3 separate regions of the Homo sapiens genome follow, and all the other regions are linked to region 2. Evidence: promoter capture Hi-C in 16 types of primary human blood cells and fetal thymus (Javierre and others, 2016). All regions are on one chromosome and are shown on one strand. The core of a region is centred on a gene start or on the middle of the fragment in contact, and the rest is flanking DNA. Distances in the headings are between cores, read along the strand shown. Region 1 overlaps TMEM202-AS1 (TMEM202 antisense RNA 1). Region 2 holds the start of HEXA (hexosaminidase subunit alpha). Region 3 overlaps ARIH1 (ariadne RBR E3 ubiquitin protein ligase 1).

What was found. Contacts are between HindIII fragments. The CHiCAGO score rates a contact against its expected background, and 5 or more counts as called.
Region 1: a fragment that was not itself captured here is called in contact with the fragment with the promoter of HEXA in region 2 in 7 of 17 cell types (M1 macrophages, M0 macrophages, M2 macrophages and 4 more); the score reaches 7.2 in M1 macrophages.
Region 3: a fragment that was not itself captured here is called in contact with the fragment with the promoter of HEXA in region 2 in 8 of 17 cell types (total B cells, naive CD4 T cells, M1 macrophages and 5 more); the score reaches 9.1 in total B cells.

The regions. Positions count from the first base shown.
Region 1 is chr15:72,454,593-72,458,583 of GRCh38, forward strand. All of the region lies in intron 1 of TMEM202-AS1 (TMEM202 antisense RNA 1), which reads right to left. Among named protein-coding and RNA genes, the nearest start is that of TMEM202-AS1, 18 kb to the right of the region's middle. The HindIII fragment of the contact is 7,934 bases long and covers 1-3,991 here.
Region 2 is chr15:72,374,401-72,378,222 of GRCh38, forward strand. It overlaps HEXA (hexosaminidase subunit alpha), which reads right to left and starts at 1,614. Exons shown (of 14, transcript NM_000520.6): 1 at 1,320-1,614. The coding sequence starts at 1,572. HEXA-AS1 (HEXA antisense RNA 1) reads left to right here and starts at 1,713. Exons shown (of 1, transcript NR_027262.1): 1 at 1,713-3,822. RefSeq lists enhancers at 850-1,405, 1,406-1,962, 1,854-1,993, 2,324-2,373. The HindIII fragment of the contact is 8,315 bases long and covers 1-3,822 here.
Region 3 is chr15:72,495,105-72,499,444 of GRCh38, forward strand. The region is part of intron 1 of ARIH1 (ariadne RBR E3 ubiquitin protein ligase 1); the gene reads left to right. Among named protein-coding and RNA genes, the nearest start is that of ARIH1, 23 kb to the left of the region's middle. The HindIII fragment of the contact is 1,773 bases long and covers 1,077-2,849 here.

The DNA.
Region 1 (3,991 bases), core at 989-3,488, 81 kb after region 2:
ATCTGCCCACCTCGGCCTTCCAAAGTGCTGGGATTACAGGCGTGAGCTATGGTGCCCTGCCGAAGAAATCCTACTTCTCTGCCTAAACTTGAGTAGAGGTTTCTAAAGTTTAAAATAGAATTTAAACCTCGTCCCCATCCTCCTTTGCTTAGATATCATACTATCAAGGACTTGTTTATGTAATAGATTTTATATTGAAGGTATTCAAGCAGAAGCTATACTAATGTTATTGATGGTACTGGTACATCTGATAAATGACTGGTCTGGAGAATGCTTCCTAGGCCTAGCTGATTGAGAGAATAACTCAGAAGTTTTAAACAATACAGATTCCATATCCTGATCATACTTAATCAGAATCTCTGAAGATGGAGCCAAAGATATGTATCTCTCAGAAGCACTACTAATAATTTTTTACAGCCAATCCAGGACCAGCTCCTGGGTAATTATTTAGGAATCTCTGGACTAAATTTTCTAAAAGACCCATTTAAATATACAATTTTAATAACTTTTGACAGTGGAAATAGCATTGCACTAGAAATTAGGTGACTGAAATTCTAGTGCCAGCTCTGCTATTGGTTACTTTGATGACAGGCAAGTTGGTTTACCCTGTGGAGCCTCAGTTTTCCCTTCTGTAAAATTAGGGATGTCTAAAGTCCCTTCCAGCTCCAAACTCAGTCAATTTTACTTGTTTGGGCATTCTGAGGAACCAAGAGTTGATTATAAAGATTCTAATTTCTAATACCTCTAGCTGTTTTTAAGGGCACATAAAGAGCTTACATAGACACTGCCATCTCAGAAGAAAGGTTCAAGATGGGGTCCATAGAACTCTTAAGAGTGCTATCATTGTTTTGGTAACTTTGAACAAATTTTCCTATAAAAACTGGGGACAAAATACTATAAATATGTGAACAAAAGTCTCTTTGTTACCAGTGGTTAATGGGTATCCCTGCAGCTACCACCTGAAACAGTTTTGGCTCTGACTCCAGAACCAAACTTTCTGGCCTTTAACTGTTTGGTAGGGTGATATAATTCATGTTATACAGCATACTGGTCCAGCTTTTAGAATATATATATATATATATATATATATTTTTTTTTTTTTTTTTTTTTTTTTTGAGATGGAGTTTAGCTCTTGTTGCCCAGGCTGGAGTGCAATGGCACAATCTCGGCTCACTGCAACCTCTGCCTCCTGGGTTCAAGCAATTCTCCTGCCTCAGCCTCCTGAGTAGCTGGGATTACAGGTGCCCGCAACCACGCCCAACTAATTTTTGTATTTTTAGTAGAGATGGGGTTTCACCATGTTAGGCTGGTCTGGAACTCCTGACCTCAGGTGATCCCCCCGCCTCGACCTCCCAAAGTGCTGGGATTATAGGCGTGAGCCACAATGCCTGGATGTAGTTTGTTGGTTGGTTTGTTAAGAACTAATTGTTATGGTAAGATTTGCCTTAGCCTGGGCATGGTGGCTCATGCCTATAATCCCAGCACTTTGGGAGAATAAGACCAGAGGATCCTTGAGTCCAGGAGTTCGAGACCAGCCTGGGCAATATAGTGAGACCCTGTCCCTACAAAAAATTTTAAAAAGTTAGCTGGGTGTGGTGGCGTGCGCCGGTAGTCCCAGCTACTCAGGAGGCTGAGGTGGGAGGATCATTTGAGCCCACGAGGTTGAGGCTGCAATGAACCATGATCACACCACTGCACTCCAGCCTGGGAGACAGAGTGAGGCCCTGTTTCAAAAATTAAATAAATAAAACAAAATAAAATTATCCTATGGTCCACTTCTCTTCTGATTATCTTACTGTAATTAACTCTAGTTTGTTTCCTGACTCATAATTTCCCTCTCCACACCATGCCCTTTTCTCTCTTCTCTGCTTCCATACACAAATTCAACTTCTTCAACCCCTTGTTTTACACATTTTTAGTGACACTCTTGCCCGTGATGTTATCATTTAAAAACTTTATTTAGGCTGGGTGCAGTTGCTCACATCTGTAATCCCAGCACTTTGGAAGGCTGAGGTGTGCGGATCACCTGAGGTCAAGAGTTCGAAACCAGCCTGGCCAGCATGGTGAAATCCTGTCTCTACTAAAAATACAAAAATTAGTCCGGCATGGTGGTGGGCTCCTGTAATCCCAGCTACTCAGGAGGCTGAGGCAGGAGAATCACTTGAACCCAGGAGGCGGAAGTTGCAGTGAGCCTAGATCACACCATTGCACTCCAGCCTAGGCGACGGAACGAGACTCCATCTAAAAAAAAAAAAAAAAAAAACAAAACTCCAAAAAAACTTTATTTACACTGAGTAACAAATAGCTAGTGTTTATTGAATGCTTACCATGCGCCAGGCACTGTATTAAGCATTTTACATACAATATATCAATTGTTATACTTTTATTTTGAGTACTATTAGATCCTCCACTATACAGATAAGACCCAGAAATATTGAGTAACTTGCCCAAAATTACATAACTAGTTAGGTGGTGACGTAGGATTTGAAATCAAGCATTTAGACTCCAGAGCCTCTACTCTATTGTCTCCTATAAAAGCAAGGATTAAAGAAAAGTAGGCCAGGCGTGGTGGCTGATGCCTGTAATCCCAGCACTTTGGGAGGCCGAGGTGGGTGGGTCACGAGGTCAAGAGCTCGAGACCATCCTGGCCAACATGATGAAACCCCGTCTCTACTAAAAACATAAAAATTAGCTGGGTGTGGTGGTGGGTGCCTGTAGTCCCACCTACTCGGGAGGCTGAGGCAGGAGAATCACTTGAACCCGGGAGGCGGGGGTTGCAGTGAGCTGAGATTGTGCCACTGCACTCTAGCCTGGCCACAGAGTGAGACTCCATCTCAAAAAAAAAAAAAAAAAAAAAAAAAAAGAAAAAGGAAAGTGTACTACACTATGATGAAAGAGATGAGAGTTTTGTGTTTTTTTGATAGTAACTAGCTAATATATCACTATGGACAGGTCATAATTGTTCTGATTTTCTCATTCATATATAAGTTGAAGTAGAACCAACTACTGTGTCATAATACTCTGTGATTCTGTTATGTGAAAAGTGTATCTTTTGATCTTTTGTCTCCTGATATGAAAGGACTTTGGCATTTCAGCCCCTTCTCCTATATTTTCATATTTATTCTAGCACTAGCTTACATTCTAACAGTGAAACACAGGTAAATATGTATTTTATGTGTGTTCTGTTTCTATTTCTGTAAAGCAAAATGTATCTGAGTAGCATAAAATTTTTAGAAAATTTCAAGTCTCATCCCTATTTTTCTGGTACTTTTAGATCTGATATCTTGATGATGGCAGAAGTGGCTTAAAGTTGGAAAATTATTGTGGTTTTGCCCAACGTGGCAAATCAGTGCTTTTTATTTTGTATATAATGTGTAATTTTCACAGCTATAACAATTGGTTATTATATATTGATCTTTGAAAAAGCAATGTATTCCAGTAGCATTTTTTTAAACAGGGTCTTGCTCTGTCACCCAGGCTGTAGTTCAGTGGTGTGATTGTAACTCACTGTATCCTCAATCTCCCAGGCTCAAGTGATCCTCCCACCTCAGCCTCTTGAATAGCTGGGACCACAGTGAGCACCACTTTTTAAATTTTTTGTAGAGATGGGGTCTCAATATATTGACCAGGCTGGTCTCAAACTCCTGGGTTCAAGCAATCCTCCTGCATCAGCCTCCCAAAGTGCTGGGATTACAGTGTGAACCATCATGCCCCACTAGTATTTTCTTTTGTGTTCCTATCTATTTCTTGAATTCATGTTTCCTTATGTTTATCAAGCCTAGTTTCTTTTACTTTTAGGAATTAAGGCTGAATTAGGACTTTTAATGACTCCCATACTAAAACTTCTTATCCTTTTAAAGCTGAAATACATTGGGAGGATCAGCAAGGTCAGAGAAAGAGAGGGTAGGTGGGGATAAGAGAGTAAAGCCCTTTTGCAAATAGGCATACTTACACAGACTGAAAGCAGGCCCTTCAATCTCTCTGCAAGTAT
Region 2 (3,822 bases), core at 364-2,863:
ACTACCCTGATGCTGAGATTGTGTTTCTTTCCCCAAATCAAATGTCACTCTCTAAGGGTCATCTGTATAATTAAATGCTTTTAATTCTATATATCAAATGATAACTTTTGTGAAAGTAATTTAAACACACTTGAAACATCATATAAAATATTACTACAAGACTTAACCGTAAATGTGGCTCCCACCCCCATAACATCTATACAATATAACCAAAGAGCTAGATTCCAGATTATCAAGAAACTTCTAAATTTTGAACCCATGCAGCAGAATTGTATTCCTTTACATTGTTGGCTCGACTTACAAATGTGCTGTGGAATAATTATCCTCAAATACAATTTTCAGTACTGATTACATAGCTGCCTAAAAGAAAACTGTTAGCCCCTTCCATTTTATGTGAAACCAATGTCTAAAGCGCTCTTGACTCTTCAACCCCACATTTTCCCCACCCTCATCCCTCCTCAATCCCCAGCCCCCACTCATCACATCCACTAGACCTGAACTTTGAACTCAATCATAATTCTTTGTGCCTCTGCTCAAGCCCTTCTTCCTGCCTGGAATACCCTCTTTTCAGTCCCGGCTAATTACATCTACCATCCCATTCCAAGTGGCCGCTGGAAACTCACTTCCTTATGTTCTATGATTTCTTTCACAATTTACACTTTTTTTGTTTTGTTTTGTTTTGTTTGGGGGGGGGGGTTGTTTTTCTGAGAGGGAGTCTTGCTCTGTTGCCCAGGCTGGAGTGCAGTGGCGCGATCTCAGCTCACCACAACCTCCACCTCATGGGTTCAACCGATTCTCCTGCCTCAGCATCCCGAGTAGCTGGGACTACAGGCGCGCGCCGCCACGCCTGGCTAATTTTTTGTGTTTTTGGTAGAGACGGGGTTTCACTATGTTGGCCGGGCTGGTCTCGAACTCCTGACCTCGTGATCCGCCCGCCAAACATTCTATGTGCCAGAAACTTGTATGTAACTTTGCATAGTTCTTGTATTATGTCTCCCCAATTTTGAGTGTTTTCTCTGGTCTCTACTCAGCCCTTGCTCACAGTCTCACTAGGACCCTGGCTAGCTTGAACACGGTCAGAAGGATCACCTTAGATTTCTGCTGGCACAGTATTTTCCATAAATTAATCTCCTGATTGAACCGTAGTCCTATAGTAGTTATCTTTGGATGAAAACCTAATGCAGCTCGAGGAGGAAGTGGAGTGCCTGTGATCAGAGGGCTGGACAAAAGCCCATAGGGCGTCTCTGGAGCCCTGGGGGAACTGTCCCCAGGCAGGCACTCTCAGGGCCCAGGAACAGGGCGGGACAAGTCCGACTCACCTGTGAGGTAAGGACGGGGCCAAGACCCGGAACCGAAAAGCAGGTCACGATAGCGCTGGAAGGCCTCGTCGAGGACTGAGCAGCCGGGCTGCGCGGCCGAGCTGACATCGTACTGGAATTGAAAGTTGTTCGGGTAAAGGACGTAGCGCTGGTCGGAGGTTTGGAAGTTCTGAGGCCAGGGCCAGAGGGCCGTCGCCCGTCCTGCGAACGCTGCCGCCAGCAGCAGCGAAAACCAAAGCCTGGAGCTTGTCATGGCCCGCTGGTCTCCCCTCTCGGAGGGGGCTGGCCACGTGAGACCCTGGTCAGGTGAGCGGCGCCCCCGTGACTTATCGGCGAATCACGTGACCAGAGGCGGCTCTGCGCCTGCGACCCCAGGAGGACCCACACCCTGCCCTTTCACTTCCGGCCTGGACCTGAGGCTCCTGCTACGTGCAGCGGATTGTGCCGGGCGTCGGCAACTGCTCGGCTCGCCAGACTGTTCACGGGCCCAGTAGAGCAGTAAATAACCGGCCACCCCTGCGGCCGTGCCGGCCGTGATGGAACTAGACAGCTCACCCGACTCGAGAAGAACGGGGTGGGGAGGCGAGGACGCAGGGCGACCTGGAGAAGAAAGTTTCCCAGATGGCTCTAGGGTGAATCTTGAATGTTGTGATGCAGCTCGCCAGGCCTACGGGGAGGTAAAGGACTTGCCAGGCTGAAGTAACTTCAGAAGCAGAAAAACGGAGGATTAAAACCACAAGTCGTTGTGATGTGAAATTTCGTGGGGCAAGAAAGGGCCGGAAGTAGGTAGTCTGCACGGCTCTGCTAGAGAGAGGATCACAAGATCACACAAATGTGATCTACTTATGACTGGAAAAAATGTGTACTTTCAGAGCCAGCTTGAGGCATTCCATTGCCTCCAATATGAGCTCTTCCCTTCAAGATTGACTATAAATCTCTTAGTTACAACTCACATCCCCTTTCCCCAGACAAAACCCCACATAGCCCGGTGTGTATTTACTGAAAGCAGTAAGATATTGCTGGGGCTTTGGGTGCAAGATGGAGAGTGCTCAGAGATAATGACAGGGGCCTGGTCCTGCAGGGCCTTACGTAGAAAGTCAAGGAATTTATTCTCTGAGCAATTGAAAATCATCCCGAAAGATCTGCATTTTAGAAATACCATGTTGAGTAGTTGCATAAGAAACCAGTTAGGAGGCCCCTTTTTATTGGAGGTAGAGAATAATGAGAGACTGAACTACAGAAGTGGGGAAGGAAGACAGCTGTAGATCCAAGAAATAGTATCCGGAAGAGAGGCTTGAGAAGTGATCAAGGAGAATTCCACAGTTATCAGAGACCCTGTCTTCCTTGTTCACCACTATATTACCAGAACATAATACAAATAATGCTATTGTTATTGGGTGGCATTATTTGGTTAGTAGGTACTTTTTAAAATTTTTAAATTTAATTTTAGTATTAAAATACATGTAAAGATCAGGAAAATGAACTTTTAAAAATAAAGGGCTTTCACTGGGCATGATAACACATCCCTGTAGTCCCAGCTACTCCCAGCTATTCAGGAGGCTGAGGCGGCAGGATCACTTGAACCAAGGAGTTCAAGTTTAGCCTGGGCAGTATAGTGAAACCCTTTCTCAAAAACAAATAAAGGGCTACTGAAATAATGATAATTTATATTCAGGTCGTAGGTACCTAATTACTAGTTACACATACATGGCTTTGATGGGAAATCAAAGAAACATTCTGACAATACAGAGATTCATCAAGCAATTTGTCTTTGAAAGTTGATTATTCAAAAACAGAGCTTGTAGCAAAAGAAGCAGAAATTAGATCCCACAGTCATCAAGTTTCAGATCCTAAGGCTTGCATTCTTACACCAATTTCTTCTTTGCTTAAATCTTAATTTTCATCAGCATTAATTAAGTGTCTGGGTACTCTGCCAGTCAGGAGAGATGTTACCAAAGGTACAGGATTTGAGAAGTATTGTCAGAAGAGCCAAGTTCATAATCAGGCCCACAGGATCAATAATTTGGGGGAGTGTTTAGAGCAGTTTCAAAGATGAGAGCAGTAGATCAAAGTAGAATTTCAGGACTGAGCACATGCCAAGGCACCCTTTTATGGATATTCAACCTGTACCAGAAGGGAGGAGTCATTTACTTAAAAGAGTTACACAAGATGAAAGAGCTAGATCCAAATAAAGACGCTATAAAAATTACTAATGGGGCTGAGCATGGTGGATTACAGGGATTCAGTTATTTAATTATTACTGAAAGAGCTCTTTTAGACTTAACCAGATTTTTAAACCAAATATTCTTATGCATACATAAAAGTAAGTTACACAAGATAAATTTGTTGATCTTCCAAAATATCCCCCCTTACTATACACTAGAGTGGGGTTTTGGCATAATGGCAGACAAATAGATGGAACGGAATAGAGGGTCCAGGAAAAGAGCCATTTGATTATTACTCCATTTCAATGAAGACACCAATTTAATTTAGTGGGGAAGGC
Region 3 (4,340 bases), core at 713-3,212, 120 kb after region 2:
AAATTAACCAGTCACGATAGCCCTTATACTGTGTGGTATCATTTATACAAAATGTCCTGAATTGGCAAATCTATAGAGATAGAAAGTAGATCAGTGGTTGTCAGAGGCTGAGTGGGGGAAATGGGGCGTGACTGCTAATGAGTATAGGGTTTCTTTTTAGGGTGATGAAATGTTCTAAAATTAATGGTTGACACAACTGTCACAATTCTGTGAATATAATCAAAACCACTGAACTACTTTTGAGAGTTAATTTCATGGTATATCTCAAGTTGTCACAGAAAAAAAGTCTAATTCAGTATTCCCCATTTGTCCAATACGTCTTTTATAGCTTTTCTTCTTTTGGTCAAGGATCATGGATTGCATTTGGTTATCATGTCTCTTTATTTGTCCATGTTCTTGATGGGTTAAAATAATAAAGAATATACAAATGGTTAGATCTCCTATAAACAAAAGAATATACAAATGGTTAGATCTCCTATAAACAAAAGTTTCCTGAAACTTCCTTAAACATGTAGCATGGATCTAGTTTATTTTAGTTGCATGCAAAATAAAACAATTGATTAAATTAAAATTGTTCTTTCATGGCTGTAAGCTCTTGGTGAAGACAGGTCAGACAGGTATTTGGGTTAATGTCAGGCAAAAATTTCTGTATCAAAACACAATATTTATACTGGCTTGAGCTAGAATGTTGAGACATTGTTTTAAGGTTTGTTTTTTTAAAATAGCTTTTAGAAGCTTATTGAGGTGTAACTATATATGCTATATAAACTATGATATACAAATATATATACTATACAAAAATATATCTTACAATTTTTTTCCTCAAGAGATACTGTTTTTCTGTCACCCAAGCTGGAGTGCAGTGGTGTAATCACAGCTCACCGCAGCCTTCAACTCCTGGGCTCGAGCAATCCTTCCGCCTCAGCCTCCTGAGCAGCTGGGACTACAGGCACACACCACCACACCTAATTAAAAAAAATTTTTTTTTGGAGATGGGGTCTGTTGCCCAGGCTAGTCTCAAACTCCTGGCTTCAGGCAGTCCTCCCACTTCAGCCTACCAAAGTGTTGGGATTACAAGCTTGAGCCACTGTGCCTGGCCATAGTTTTGTATATAAATGTCTTACTATTATAGTTTGGTAATCGACCTAAATAATACTGTTACATATTGTTTTAAGCCCCCAAAGTTGTCTTACCTAGATGTGGTGCTAGCAAACGTTTTTATAAAGGCAGGAATGTAGAATGGCAAAATGCTGAAATACAAACATACTCTAAGCACACAGACCTTAGTGTCACAGTAGAAACTTCCTGCTTGCAATAATTGCCATTTTAATTTTGGTGCAGAAAGCCTTCTATGGATGTGATAGTTTATGTACCAAAGAGCAATCTCTATTTGAAGAAACTGTGTGGCCTGGTTACAAAAGTGCCTGCTGTATCTGTAACTGTCAGTGGTATTAAAAATACTGATTTATTTTGCCTGTTGTGATAATCAAGAATAGCTTATTTGGATATATGCATGGGATGGTTGCAAATACCAAGTTCAGGTATTTTACTATGGAATATAGATAGGGGTGTTTTCTTCTGGTTTTCCCCACCCCTTTATATATACCTTGATTTTAATTTTTATCAAGTGTGTCTCTTTGGCCTTTGCCGCTGTGGCCCATTGATCTGTCCATCTGTCTGTTACAGTGCATATTGGGTACTTCCAGAAGTATGAATTCAGTGATGCAAAGGACAGGCGGGCTGCAGCAGCAAAGGTAGGACAGAATCATTCCAAAGACAAGTCATTAAAAGACCATTAAACACACATACTTACACACAGACATTGGCAACCAGTACCTCATTATTTAAGGGCACATCATTTATCCTATAAATCTTTGTGGGAAAGTTTGTTTTGACATGACAAATGTGATGTACTTGTAAAGGGCACAATTTTATTATTATGTTTTAAACCAGAAGCCTACTTGGCACTTAGGCAACAAAGTAAATGGCATTTGCCACTGTCTTTAAGATGCCGAATAATAGAAGAGATAATTAAATGGAGGATATTAATGGTATTAATTGATTCATGGAGCTGGCTGATTTTCAGAAACTATGATAAAGGATCCTATTTTGTAAACTGGGAGGAGAAACAGAGAAGATAGATTGAGCTATGTGTGTATATTTATGTGTTAATGTTTATTTATATTCCTGACTCTGGAATATTTTGATGAAAATAATCTAAATCTTCCTGTTATTTCGCTGACATCACTATGAGGAAGATTAAGAAATTCTATTTAAATGTTTGTACCATTTACTTAAGTATTTGTATCAGTTTACTTGCTAAATGATAGCAGTTATAATAGCAATTTCTGGCTTAAAAAAAAAACAGGGTTAGGATGGAAGGGCAATAGCATTTTTATACTGAATCCTAAAACATCAGTTATAGGCAAGTTTTAAAACTTAATCATACGTTGCAAACACTTGAAGATGAAATGGAAGGCTTATAAGGTTAAGTGTTAGGTTTTATGTGTCATTCTAGTATTGGCTGAAAAGTGAGTGCTATAGGGATGGTGGAATGATGCAGATATTTGCATCATTTTCTATGCTGTTATGCTTCTAAAAAGAAGAGGCTATGTTTTCCTAAATAGGTTAGTAGAGTGCTTCTCAAGGCTTCCCAAATGAAAAGTCAGACAAAAATATGTATTTGTTCTTCAGTGAAGATTGTTGGGTTTTCAAACCAGCAATCTTAGCTGTAAAACCTAAGATCTTACCACAGCCTAAATTGTGACTCAAATGCTGATGTTAGTTAATACTTTTATAAACTCCATATACTATATTGAGGAGATCTAGTTTCTTGAATGTGGAAGTGAAGCTTCATAATATACCATAGTAGGGATGTTTCGAATCAATAGTGTTAAAATGTTTTGGGTTTTTTAAAGATTTTTTTTCAGCTGGTCTTGGAAACCTTTTCAGTTATCTGTTTTTGATTCTACCAAAGGTATTAGGTATTTAATGCTCCACTAAATAGATCACAAAAGGGGAGTCTTAAGGAGGTGAAGATGTGAACTTCTTGACTAGATGTAAATCACTGCTCAGAAAGATTTGACTTTTTTAAATGATGCATTCTTATGTCAATAGACTTTAATCTGCAACCAAAATGTTTTTTTTTTAAATAAAAATGAGGCACATTTGTGCTTTCTCACTTCTGCTCCAATTCTACCTTATTCTGCAAGTTGCTATTTTTTCCTTTAGCAGTACACTATAGATTTAAAAATTGTATGGTATTTTCTAATATAACCATATCAATTTATCAGTTTTCCTATTGTTGGACATCTAATTCACTCATATTTGTGTCTTCTTCCTTTCCCTTACAGAGTTTTTGTAAAGAAGGCTGAGTGTTTTCAAAAGTTATGTTTATATTTACATGTGTGTGAACTACCATTTTCTGTATACCCTTGCTGATAACTATTAAGAATCTTGGTCTGGCGTGGTGGCTCACGCCTGTGATCCCAGCACTTAGGGAGGCTGAGGCGGTGGATCACCCGAGGTCAGGAATTGGAGACCAGCCTGACCAACATGGCGAAACCCCGTCTCTACTAAAAATACATTAGCTGGGTGTGGTGGTGCATGCCTGTAATCCCAGCTACCTGGGAGGCTGAGGCAGGAGAATGGCTTGAACCCAGGAGGCGGAGGTTGCAGGGAGCCAAGATCGTGCCACTGCATTCCAGCCTGGGCAACAAGAGTGAAACACTCCATCTCAAAAATAAAAAAAAAAAAGAACTCTTCAAATTTTTATTAATCTGGTAAAGAAAATACTAGTTGTTTTAATTTACATTTTTCTGAATTGCCTTTTTATGTCGTTTGCACCTTTTCATAAATTTTTTTTTTTTTTTTTTTTTTTTTTTTTTTTTTTTTGAGACAAAGTCTTGCTCTGTCACCCAGGCTGGAGTGCAGTAGTGTGATCTCGGCTCACTGCGACCTCTGCCTCCCGGGTTCAAGCCATTCTCCCGCCTCATCCTCCTGAGTAGCTGGGAGGCGCACGCCACCACACTTGGCTAATTTTTGTATTTTTAGTAGAGACGGGGTTTCACCATGTTGGTCAGGCTGGCCTCGAACTTCTGATCTCAAATGATCCACCTGCCTTGGCCTCCCAAAGTGTTGGCGTGAGCCACTGAGCCCAGCCAGTAATGGTATTTAATGTATAATTATTGTAGCTCTTTCTCCAGTTTGTTATTTGTAAGAAAAAAAAAAAGCAATACATGCATGTGGTAACAAATGTAAATGTTATATCTTACAATGATTACATTTATAGCTTTAATATGTCTCTTCCTTTTGACATTATCTCTTTCCTTTTTCTTCCT